3 separate regions of the Homo sapiens genome follow, and all the other regions are linked to region 3. The links are contacts of gene promoters, found by promoter capture Hi-C in blood cells and fetal thymus (Javierre and others, 2016). All regions are on one chromosome and are shown on one strand. Each heading gives the region's core, a stretch centred on a gene start or on the middle of the fragment in contact. The rest is flanking DNA. Distances are from core to core; before and after follow the strand shown.

The links. The method cuts DNA at HindIII sites, captures the fragments that hold promoters and counts their contacts. A CHiCAGO score of 5 or more calls a contact.
Region 1: a contact is called between a fragment that was not itself captured here and the fragment with the promoter of PADI1 in region 3, in 1 of 17 cell types (neutrophils). The highest score is 5.9, in neutrophils.
Region 2: a contact is called between a fragment that was not itself captured here and the fragment with the promoter of PADI1 in region 3, in 1 of 17 cell types (monocytes). The highest score is 7.1, in monocytes.

What each region holds. Positions count from the first base shown.
Region 1 is chr1:17,037,273-17,040,948 of GRCh38, forward strand. All of the region lies in intron 2 of SDHB (succinate dehydrogenase complex iron sulfur subunit B), which reads right to left. Among named protein-coding and RNA genes, the nearest start is that of SDHB, 15 kb to the right of the region's middle. The HindIII fragment of the contact is 1,790 bases long and covers 1,260-3,049 here.
Region 2 is chr1:17,070,153-17,073,778 of GRCh38, forward strand. It overlaps PADI2 (peptidyl arginine deiminase 2), which reads right to left. Exons shown (of 16, transcript NM_007365.3): 14 at 1,254-1,339; 15 at 1-64. Among named protein-coding and RNA genes, the nearest start is that of SDHB, 18 kb to the left of the region's middle. The HindIII fragment of the contact is 1,384 bases long and covers 1,370-2,753 here.
Region 3 is chr1:17,203,532-17,206,939 of GRCh38, forward strand. It overlaps PADI1 (peptidyl arginine deiminase 1), which reads left to right and starts at 1,597. Exons shown (of 16, transcript NM_013358.3): 1 at 1,597-1,778. The coding sequence starts at 1,687. The HindIII fragment of the contact is 2,277 bases long and covers 791-3,067 here.

The DNA of each region.
Region 1 (3,676 bases), core at 905-3,404, 170 kb before region 3:
GTTCCTAGGGGGCAATGTCTTATATTTTCTTTTCTTTTTTTTTTTTGAGACAGCGTCTCCCTCTGTTGCCCAGGCTGGAGTGTAGGGCATGGAATCATGGCTCACTGCAGCCTCGACCTCCTGGGTTCAAGTGATCCTCCCACCCCACCCTCCCAAGTAGCTCGGACTACAGGAGTGTGCCACCACACCTGGCAAATTTTTTGAGACACAGTCTTGCTCTGTTGCCCAGGCTGGAGTGCAGTGGCGTGATCTTGGCTCACTGCAACCTCTGCCACCTAGGTTCAAGCAATTCTTGTGCCTTAGCCTTCCAAGAAGCTGGGATTACAGGTGTGTGCTACCATGCCTGGCTAATTTTTGTATTTTTAGTAGAGACAGGGTTTTGCCATGTTGTCCAGGGTGGTCTTGAACTCCTGGACTCAAGTCATCTGCCTGCTTTGGCCTCTCAGAATGTTGGGATTACAGGCGTGAGCCATCGCACCCAGCCTGGCTAATTTTTTGTTTGCTTTTTTGTAGAGATGGGGGTCTCATTTTGTTGCCCAGGCTGGTCTCCAACTCCCAGGCTCAAGCAATTCTCCTGCTTCAGGCCAGGCACAGTGGCTCACACCTGCAATCCCAGCACTTTGGGAGGCCGAGGTGGGCAGATCACCTGAGGTCAGGAGTTCGAGACCAGCCTGACCAACACGCAGAAACCCCATCTCCACCAAAAATACAAAAGAATTAGCTGGGCGTAGTGGCAGGCGCCTGTAATCCCAGCTACTTGGGAAGCTGAGACAGGAGAATTGCTTGAATCCGGGAGGCGGAGGTTGCGGTGAGCCAAGATTGTGCCATTGCACTCCAGCCTGGGCAACAAGAGCGAAAACTCTGTCTCAAAAAAAAAAAATTCTCCTGCTTCAGCCTTCCAAAATGCTGGGATTATAAGCACAAGCCACTGAGCCTGCCCAAGGTTTTGTGTAAAAGATTATGTTATCTATGAGAGACAGTTTTACTTCTTCTTTTCCAATTTCCTTTTCTTTCTTTTTCTCACCCAATTTCCCTGGCTAAGCCTCCAGTAAAATTTTGAATGGCTGATGTTAGCATAAATAGAATTATCTGTAGCCATTGAAATACACACACACACAAATAGTATTTTGCATATTGACCTTACATCCTGCAGCCTTGCTAAATTTACTTATTCTTTTAGTTTTGTAGACTCCCTGAAATTTTCTATGTAAACAATCATGTTACCTGTGACTACAGTTAGTTTAATTTCTTCCTTTCCAAGCTTACATATGCCTTCTACTTCTTTTACTTGCCTTTCATGGACTGGCTAGAACCTTCAGTACAATGTTGAACTCAAATACAGAGTGGACAACCTTCCTTATTCCTGATCTTATGGGGAAAGTGTTCAATATCTCACAATAAAGTATGCTATTAGCTGTGATTTTCACAGTCTTCATCTGGCTGATGAAGTTCCCTTCTTTTCCTATTAGCAGTTATTATTTAAGTAAAATTAGGACTATTCCTTTTAATTCAAATTCCTTATAGTTTTATTTATTTATTCTGTTAAAATATACACACTGTGAAAATTATTTAACCCATTATCATTTTTAAAAATCATGAATGAGTGTTGAATCTTGCCAAATGCTTTTCTGCATATATTAAAGCAATCAAATGGGTTTTCCCCCTTTATTCTGTTAATATGGTGAATCACATTGATTTTCAAATGTATTTCTTTATTTTTTCTTGCGCTTTTTCTTGCACTTAAAACAGCATATGGTTGGGTTTTGCTTTTTTTAAAAAAATCTATTCTGACACTGTTGGCTTTTTAACTGGGAGTATTTAATAGTTTTTACATTCAATACAGTTATTGACGTGGCCGGATTTAGGTCTATCATTTTACTATTTGTTCCATCATTTTGCTGCTGTTCTCTTCTTCTTTTCTTATTCTAAGTAATATTTTTAGACTAAGTAAATATTTTTAGAAATCAATTTTAATTTATATATTGGCTTTTTAGCTATATCTCTTTGCATTTAAAAAAATAATTACTCTTGGCTGGGCATGGTGGCTCACACCTGTAATCCTAGCACTTTGGAAGGCTGATGCAGGAGGACTGCTTGAGCCCAGGAGACCAGTGTGGGCAACATAGTGAGACCCTGTCTCTACAAAAAAAAAAAAAAAAAAAAAATTGGCCAGGCATAGTGGTACATGCCTGTAGTCCCAGGGACATGGGAGGCTGAGGTGGGAGGATTGCTTGAGCCTAGGAGGTCTCAGGGAGGGAGGATTGCTTGGTTGAGCCTGGGAGGGTTTAGTGAGCCATGATTGTGCTACTGCCTTCCAGCCTGGATGACAGAGTGAGGCCCTGTCTCAGAAGAAGAAAAAAAGTTACTCTAGAATTATACTTTACATAATTTACATCTTTAACTCTTTATACCTGTTTAGAGTTACTATTGTGCAACTTTATGTAATGCAAGAATCCTGCTACATTATTATAGGTCTATTTACCTGCTGTTCCCAGCCCCTACGCTATAGTTATCATATGCCTTACATCTATGTGAGTTATATATTACAGAATATAATATAATAACTTTGCTTTAAACAGTCATATTAATTTTAACAAAATTAAGAGGAAAAATCCTTTTATATCTACTATGTCCAGCGCTCTTCATTCCTTTTCTAAGAGCCAAGTTTCCACCTGGTATTATTTTTCCTCAGCCTGACTAACTTCCTATAGCATTTCATGTAGTACTGGTCTTCTGGCCATGAATTCTTTTCTTTTCTGTTTACCTGAAAATGTTTTTATTTCATAATCATCTTGAAGAATCTTTTTTTCTGAACGTGGAATTCCAGGCTGACAATTTTTCTTTTAGTACTTTAAAGATGGTATTTCACTGTCTCTTGGCCTCTAGTTTCTGATGAGAAGTCAGCAATTTTTCACCTGGTTTCCTTGTATGTAACATGTTGTTTTTCTCCAGCTGCTTTCAAGATTTTCTCCTATTTTTGGTCGTCAGCAACTTGACTTCATGGAACAGGGCATAGTTTTATTTTTATTTACCTAGTTGGGGTTCACTAAGCTTCTTGGATATGTGAATTATGTCTTTCATGGGCTCAGGAAATTCTTGGCCATGAGTTCTTCAAATAGATATTTATTTTGCCTTTTCTTTCTCTCCATTTTTTCTGGAAGTCCAATTACATGTGTGTTACATCCATCCATCCACTCACCCATGCATGGTCTTACTCTGCTGCCCAGGTTGGAGTACAGTGGCACAATTATAGCTCATAGCAGCCTCAAGTTCCTAAGCTCAAGCTGTCTTCCTGCTTCAGCATCCCAAGTAGCTAGGACTACAGGTATGTGCCACCACGCCTGGCTAATTTTTCAAAGAAAAAATTTTTTTAGTAGAGACAAGGTCTCACAGGTTGCCCAAGCTGGTCTTGGACTCTTGGCCTCAAGTGATCCTTTTGCCTCAGCTTCCCAAAGTGCTGGGATTACAGACATGAGCCACCATGCCTGCCCTAGACCTTTTGATGCTGTTCCATAGATCACAGGAGCGCTTTCCCTTTTCAAAAATCTTTCTTTTTCTTAAGAACAGATAATTTCGGCCGGGCATGGTGGCTCACGTCTGGAATCCCAGCACTTTGGGAGGCCGAGGCGGGTGAATCACTTGAGGTCAGGAGTTTAAGACCAGCCTGCCAACATGG
Region 2 (3,626 bases), core at 812-3,311, 130 kb before region 3:
TGATGTCCTGCTCTGTCAGTCCCAGCTCCTTCTTGAGGATGTCACGGTTCCAGTCTAGGCAGCGCTGGGTAGGAGAAAGGATGGAGGGCATGCAGGTGAGGGGGACACACACCGGCCACCTTGTCAACCCCATCCCTGTCTGCAGCACCAGGCCAGGGGCCCCGGCACTCCAGAGAGACTTCTAGCAGTCAGCGGGCGCCTCTGCAGCCTCTCCCTGGCCCTGTCCACCGGGGTTCATGAACAGCAGTCGTAATAGGACAGAGGAAGGTCACAGATGCCAGAACAGCAGCTGCCATTTCCTGAGCACTCACTAGAGCCGGTCCCTGTGCTAAGTGCTTCCCACACAGCACCTCAGTGACCCCTCGGGCCACCCCATGAGCTGAGGATAACACTGATGATTTTGGTAATAACAAAAGCTAATGCGTACATGTGCTTAGTACTGTTCTAAGCGCATTACATAGATTGCCTATTTAAGCTCCAGCCCTGTAATATAGATGCTATTATTATTCCCTTTTAATTTTTTTTTTAAGACTGAGTCTCACTCTGTTGCCCACGCCGGAGTGCAGTGGCACGATCTCGGTTCACTGCAACCTCCACTTCCTGGGTTCAAGTGATTCTTCTGCCTCAGCCTCCCAAGTAGCTGGGATTATAGGCGCCTGCCACCACGCCAGGCTAATTTTTGTATTTTTGGTAGAGATGGGGTTTCAACATGTTGGGCATGTTGGCCTTGAACTCCTGACCTCAGGTGATCTGCCCACCTCAGTCTCCCAAAGAGTTGGGATTACAGGCATGAGCCACCAGGCCCGGCCAAAGTTTTTATTTATTTTTTTTGTAGAGACAAGTGTCTCACTATGTTGCCCAGGCTGGTCTCAAGCCCCTGGCCTGAAGCAATCCTCCCGCCTTGGCTTCCCAAAGTTCTGAGATTACAGGCATGAGACACTGTGTCTGGCCCCCATTATCCCCTTTTTAGAGATGAGAGACCCAAAGACAGCCTTAGTGAGTTGCCCATGGTCCTACCTCCCCAAGTGAGGGGGCGGCACAATTTGGCACTTCTTTAACCCTGGGACTTTAGCCCAGGAGCAAAGCAAGGAGGCTGGCTGGATGCTGGTGGAGGCTCTTCCCTGTGCTGCTGTGCTCGGGGTCAGGAGCTCCTGAGCCCTTGGCCATTCTCTACGGAAGCCCCAAGGATGTAAGGGCCTGAGCCTCATCCCTCCCAGGGGCCCTCTGGCCCTGCACCCCTGCCCTGCCCTCACCTGGAAGTACAGGTTCTCCTGCACAAGGCTCTCGTTGGACAGAATCTTGTTGATGGTGATTCGCTTGCTGCTCATCCCACCCAAGCCTGTGGGGTTCAAAGGACAGGGGATGGTCAAGCTTTAGATACCCAGGCTGAGTGTTCCCCTTTTGCCAAGATCCTCCAGGCCTGGGCTAACTGCTGGACTGGGACTGGGGAGATGGGACTGGGGAGAGGCTGGATCACAGGAGGGCACTCCCAGGCAAAATCAGGCCCCCCTCTGTCTGGGGAGGGCAGCACACACTCTTTTCTCCAGAGTTGACCATGACATCTGAGCCAGGACAGTGGTGGCAGCTGCCTTGCTCTTGCTTTGGCCAGTGGGATCAGGGGTGCTACAAGTAGCCCCCTGGTTCTCCCACCTACAGCCTACTCCTAAGGATGAGCAGCTGACCAGCATGAATGTGGCAGAAGCAGCATGGCCAAAGGGGACACCCTTCCTGTTTTCCAGAGCTGCCTCATCTTGGCTGCTGCTCTGGAGTGGCCTGCGTTTTCCTCCTGTACCACACGATGGCTTATGTGGCTTCCAGCTTGATTAGTAATGCCTAATGCTCAATGAGCACCTACTATGTGGCCGACGCTCTTCTAAACGCTTTACATTGAATTAACTCATGGATCCTCCCCACATTTCTATGGGGTAGTCACTACCCTGAAAAATGAGGAAACTGAGGCACAGAGAAGTTATGTGACTTGTCTCAGGACTTACATCTAGCAAGCGGCAGAGTTGGTGTGCAGATCAGGCAGTCTGATTCCAGAGCCTATGCTCTTAACCTATTATTTGTTTATTTATTTTGGCCTCATCTGGGAAGAGACTGCTGGTCCATTGCACTTCCCAGGTTTATAACTGGACAGCAGTAAAGATGCCCAGCTACAAGCCGGATGTAATCTTTGAGGCTTAGGGACTCAGAAGGGAGGGTCCAGGTAGAAACAGAAAACTTTAGGGATCTGTGATTTTCTAAAACTGATCCAAGTTCAGGAGATAGATTGATATAAGCATTTTTCTGGAGGGCAAGTCTGTAGTTTTTATCATCTTTTAAAGGGATGTGTTTTCCCCAAACATTGTGGGCTCTGGTCCAGCGGAGATCTTGGCTCTTTGGCATTGCCTGGTTCACCTTCCTCCCCAGGTCTCCTATGTGCTTCTACTCTCTGCTGACTGCACATCCGCGCATCCTCTCTCTGTCTGTCCCAATTACATGAATGTCTAAGTCCAGGAGATAATGTTTCACTCCTGAACTGACAATGACGATGCCTGACCATGCCTTCTGTCCATCAAAGTCCAGTTTTCTTCCTGTCCCCAAACTGTATTCTATCTATTTTCTCTCTATCTCTCTTTCTAAAATACAAAGAGAAATCTGGGGCACTGCTTGCCCCTATTTGTACAAAAATAATGGTCCCTATATCCTATGGGTAGTTTTTGAGGGTATGTTTAATATTAGAGAGGAAGCCTCCAGGAAGTCAGGACTCAAGCTTGCCAATCCAAGAACAAACTTCCCATCAGTGGGGAATTTAAAAAGGGTGGTGGTGTTAAATTGGTCTTGTCTGTCCTAGACACCAGTGACAGTCAGGAACACTGTCTTTGGATCTGAGGGGCAGTCATGTAAGTATCAACCAGCTGCGGGAACTCAGGCTTTCAGGCATGAGATATATTATGGATACCAACCTGAAAAGTGACAAAAGTAATTTAAGAAAAAAATAGGCCGAGCATGGTGGCTCACGCCTGTAATCCCAGCACTTTGGGAGGCCGAGGCGGGTGGTTCATGAGGTCAGGAGATTGAGACCATCCCGGCTAACATGGTGAAACCCCACCTCTACTAAAAATACAAAAAATTAGCCGGGCGTGGTGGCGGGCGCCTGTAATCCCAGCTACTGGGGAGGCTGAGGCAGGAGAATGGCTTGAACCTGGGAGGCGGAGCTTGCAGTGAGCCGAGATGGCACCACTGCACTCCAGCCTGGACGACAGAGTGAGACTGTGTCTCAAAAAAAAAAAAAAAAAGTATAACGGATATAGAGAGTGCTGATGGTTAGTCAGCATTGTAGATGTATTTAATGTCCCGGAACTGTGTCCTTACAAGTGGTTAAAATAACAAATGTGTTAGATTAGGTATATTTTATCACAATAAAAAACATGTTGGACATAAGGATGGCAATGGCAAACACTGGGGACTATTAGAGTGGGGAGGGAGAGAGGAGGGAAAGAGTTGAATGACTAACTGTTGTCTACTATGCTCAGTACCTGCGTGATGGGATCATTCATACCCCAAATCACACAATACACCCAGGTAACAAACCTGCACATGTACCCCCTAAATCTAAAATAGAAGTTGAAAAAGAAAAAAAA
Region 3 (3,408 bases), core at 347-2,846:
ATCAGACTGACAACTCCTCAGGCAAGGCTGTTTCTCTCTCTCTCTCTCTCTCTCTTTCTTGCTCTTTGCTGCCCTGCCACCCCAGCCCTGTGGACACTAGAGTTCTGGTTTATGTGCCCCTTTTCCCACTCTGTATAAGAGCCCCCTGGAAGAAGAGGACCACATTACTGAGGATGGGTGTCCTGCGATTCCAGAGCAAACGGCTCTTCTCATCACCCCCAATGCCCGATATGAAGGGAACACGTCACCTGCAATTCACCACCTCTACCCCAAGCTCTAACAGACATCTCATGTCGAACAAGTCCAACAGAGAATGGCCAAGCTCCCTGCCCAGCTTGCCCTCCTGCAGCCTTCCCTATCTCTCTGATGACAACTCCATCCTTCTAGTTGCTCGGGTCCCAAATACTCCAGTGATCGTTGACCACTCTCTCTCACACCCACATCCAACTCATCAGCAAACCTCATCGGCTCTACCTTCAAGATACATTCAGGATCCAACCACTTCCCACCACCTTCCCTGTTACCCTGGGACCAAGCCATGCCATCCCTCGCTTAGATAATGGGAAGAACCTTAATGCACCATCTGATGTCATACACACTTTACTCATTTAACTTCACCTACGGTCTGTCTCCCCCAGAATATAAATGTCGTCAGAGCAGGAATCATGGTCTCTTTTGTTCATAGTTGTATCCCTATCACCTAAATGAGTGCCTGACACATAAAAGATGATTAACAAACACTTGTCAAATTAACAAATGAAGTTCTACAAAGAGCCTCAGAACAGGCTGAAGCTTGCTGTGCTGAGCTGAAAGAAGAGGGATTTTCAGAAATGAGTCCACGCTCCCAGGTCATTGCTCTGAGCTCTTTTTCAAGTTCCCTCCTCTCTGGCTCCCCAAGAATGCTTGCCTGGGGTGGCTTCTGCTGTCTGTGGAGTCTGGGCACAAGGGCCTACCCTCACCTGTTGGGGGGTGGTATTGTGTGGCGAGACGGGTGAACCTGCGTGGAAGTTATAACTCTACCACTTACTAGCAGTGAGACCTGCAGCCATGGTTCTCTTACCTGCAAAATGAGGATAAAAGTCATAATTGTTAGTGTTTTAGTGAACACAGGTGCCAGGAGCTGTGCTAATCTTCTTACACATAACTCATGTCTTTCCCACATCAACACAATGGGACAGGTACTACTGTTACAGCTGCCAACTTACACATGAGGCAGCTGAGTCACAGAGAGGTTAAAAGGTTTGATAAGGATCACAGGTGGTTATAGGCAGAGCCCGCACATAGTCAGCCCACAGAAACACTGACATCATTGTAATAGGGGTTCAGGCACCAGGAGTCTTTGGAGGGGAGGGCAGAGGCTGCTGGGGAGCTCTGGAGGGTCTCCTGTCAGCAGGTGAGTCCTGCTTCGCCCGGGGCCCCCAGTTGAAGCTCCCCTTCCCCATCTCCCAGACAGGCCTTGGGCACCTCCTCCCCTGACCTCCTGGATTGACAGCCCTGAGTGAGGAGGGTGTGGAGCCAGGAGGTGGGGACCAGGCTCAGCCAGGCTAATCAGGTCGCAGGGTGAAATTTAAAGGGAGGAGGAGGCACCAGTCCATCAGAACTCACACTTCTTCCTGGCAAAGAAGTGCCCAGGACGGGAGCTGGGGAGCCAGGGCTGATCTAGGAGGCTGGGAGCCAGGTGACAGGATGGCCCCAAAGAGAGTTGTGCAGCTGTCCCTGAAGATGCCTACCCATGCCGTGTGTGTGGTGGGAGTCGAGGCACATGTGGACATTCACAGGTAAGAGCTGGGAGGCGCTCTCCTGGCTGCAGAGAGCTGGGTTAGAGTGTAAGTCAATGGGGTGGGTGCCTGGTAGACAAGTCAGGCACGTTGGAAAGGATGCTGGCAGGAGATAGCAGAGAAGGTGGAGTTGGCTGTGGAGTCTGGAAGGAAGGAACTAGGGTCTAGTCAGGTCCTCCTTGGGGCCCCAGCTCCTGGGCACTGGGCTCAGGACATTGGCTTCAATCCCCTGGGTAAGAGTCCAGCCTTAGATTTCTAACTCTGAGCCCTGGGGTCAGGCTTTGGGGTCTGGGCCCTGCATTCTGACACCTAGGTAGAACTTGTGTGGAACATCAGATGGCTCAAGATGGGGAAGAGAACTGGTTCCCACCTCCCTCAATTTCTTGCCAAGCCCCCATCTCTTTGAGGTGAAGGGACGTGTGTGGTAGCTTGACCCTTGGAGGTCAGCCAGAGATAACTAGATTGATTCCAATCAGGAGGGAGTGGTTAGGAAATACTCGATGAATTAATATGAAGAGAGAACCTGGAGCAAGACGGCTGGGACTTATGTTTGCTGTGAGATGATGGTGATGACGCTGATTATGGTGATGAACAGTGATGATGGCGATGATGGCGGTGATGGTGGCAATGATGACATCTGAGGGGGCATCAGTAGCATTTGCTTCTCCTGTTGACCCAAATCTTTCCTGTGCTGGCTGTGTCCAGATGGGGACTCGGGGACTCAGCCTTAGTTTCCCTACCTGGCCACTAAGGGAATTGGATTTGGTGATCTCTGGTGGCATTTCCAACTCTGAGAGGCTGTCTATGGATTCCATCCCTGCTGGAGCAGGTGGGGCTGAACCCCTTGCAGATAGGGGGCTCGTGGTGGGAGTCTCCCTCAAAGAGGAGCTGGGTGCTGGGGGTCTGTTACTGGGTGAGATCTGAGCTCCTTTCTCCCTCTTGGGACTCAGCCCCTGTACCTGCTGGTCTGGTTAATGTATGTGGGGCCCAGGGCCAGCTGCCCACCTGGCCTCTGGTGATCCTCTGCTCGAGAAGCCCTTCCTGCTTCTCTGTTGGGCAGTGGTCTGTGACCCCGGTGGCAGGGCTGGGGAGGAAAACCAGGAGCCATGGAAACCAAACCTTGACTCTAAGTTGCTGCTGGGAGCCCCGCTGTGGGGGCTGGTTCTCTCGGGTCTAGGTGGCCAGCAGAGACCCCATTGTCTCTTGCCCTGTTAACATAGGCTTGCCAGATTTAGCAAATAAAAATACAGGATGCCTGGTTAAGTTTGAATTTCAGATAAAAAACAAAAAGCTTTTTTAGTATATTGCATGGGAGATATTTCTACTAAAATAATCTGCTGTTTAGCTGAAGCTGAAGTCTTTTTTTTCTTTTTCTTTTTTTTTTTTTTTTTTTTTGAGATGGAGTCTCGCTCTGTCACCCAGGCTGGAGTGCAGTGGCGAGATCTTTGCTCACTGCAACCTCCACCTCCCGGGTTCAATTCTCTGCCGCAGCCTCCAGAGTAGCTGGGATAACAGGAACCCACCATCACACTCGGCTAATTTTGTATTTTTAGTAGAGACAAGGTTTTGCCATGTTGGTCAGGCTGGTCTCAAACTCCTGACCTCAAGTGATCAACCCACCTCGGCCTCC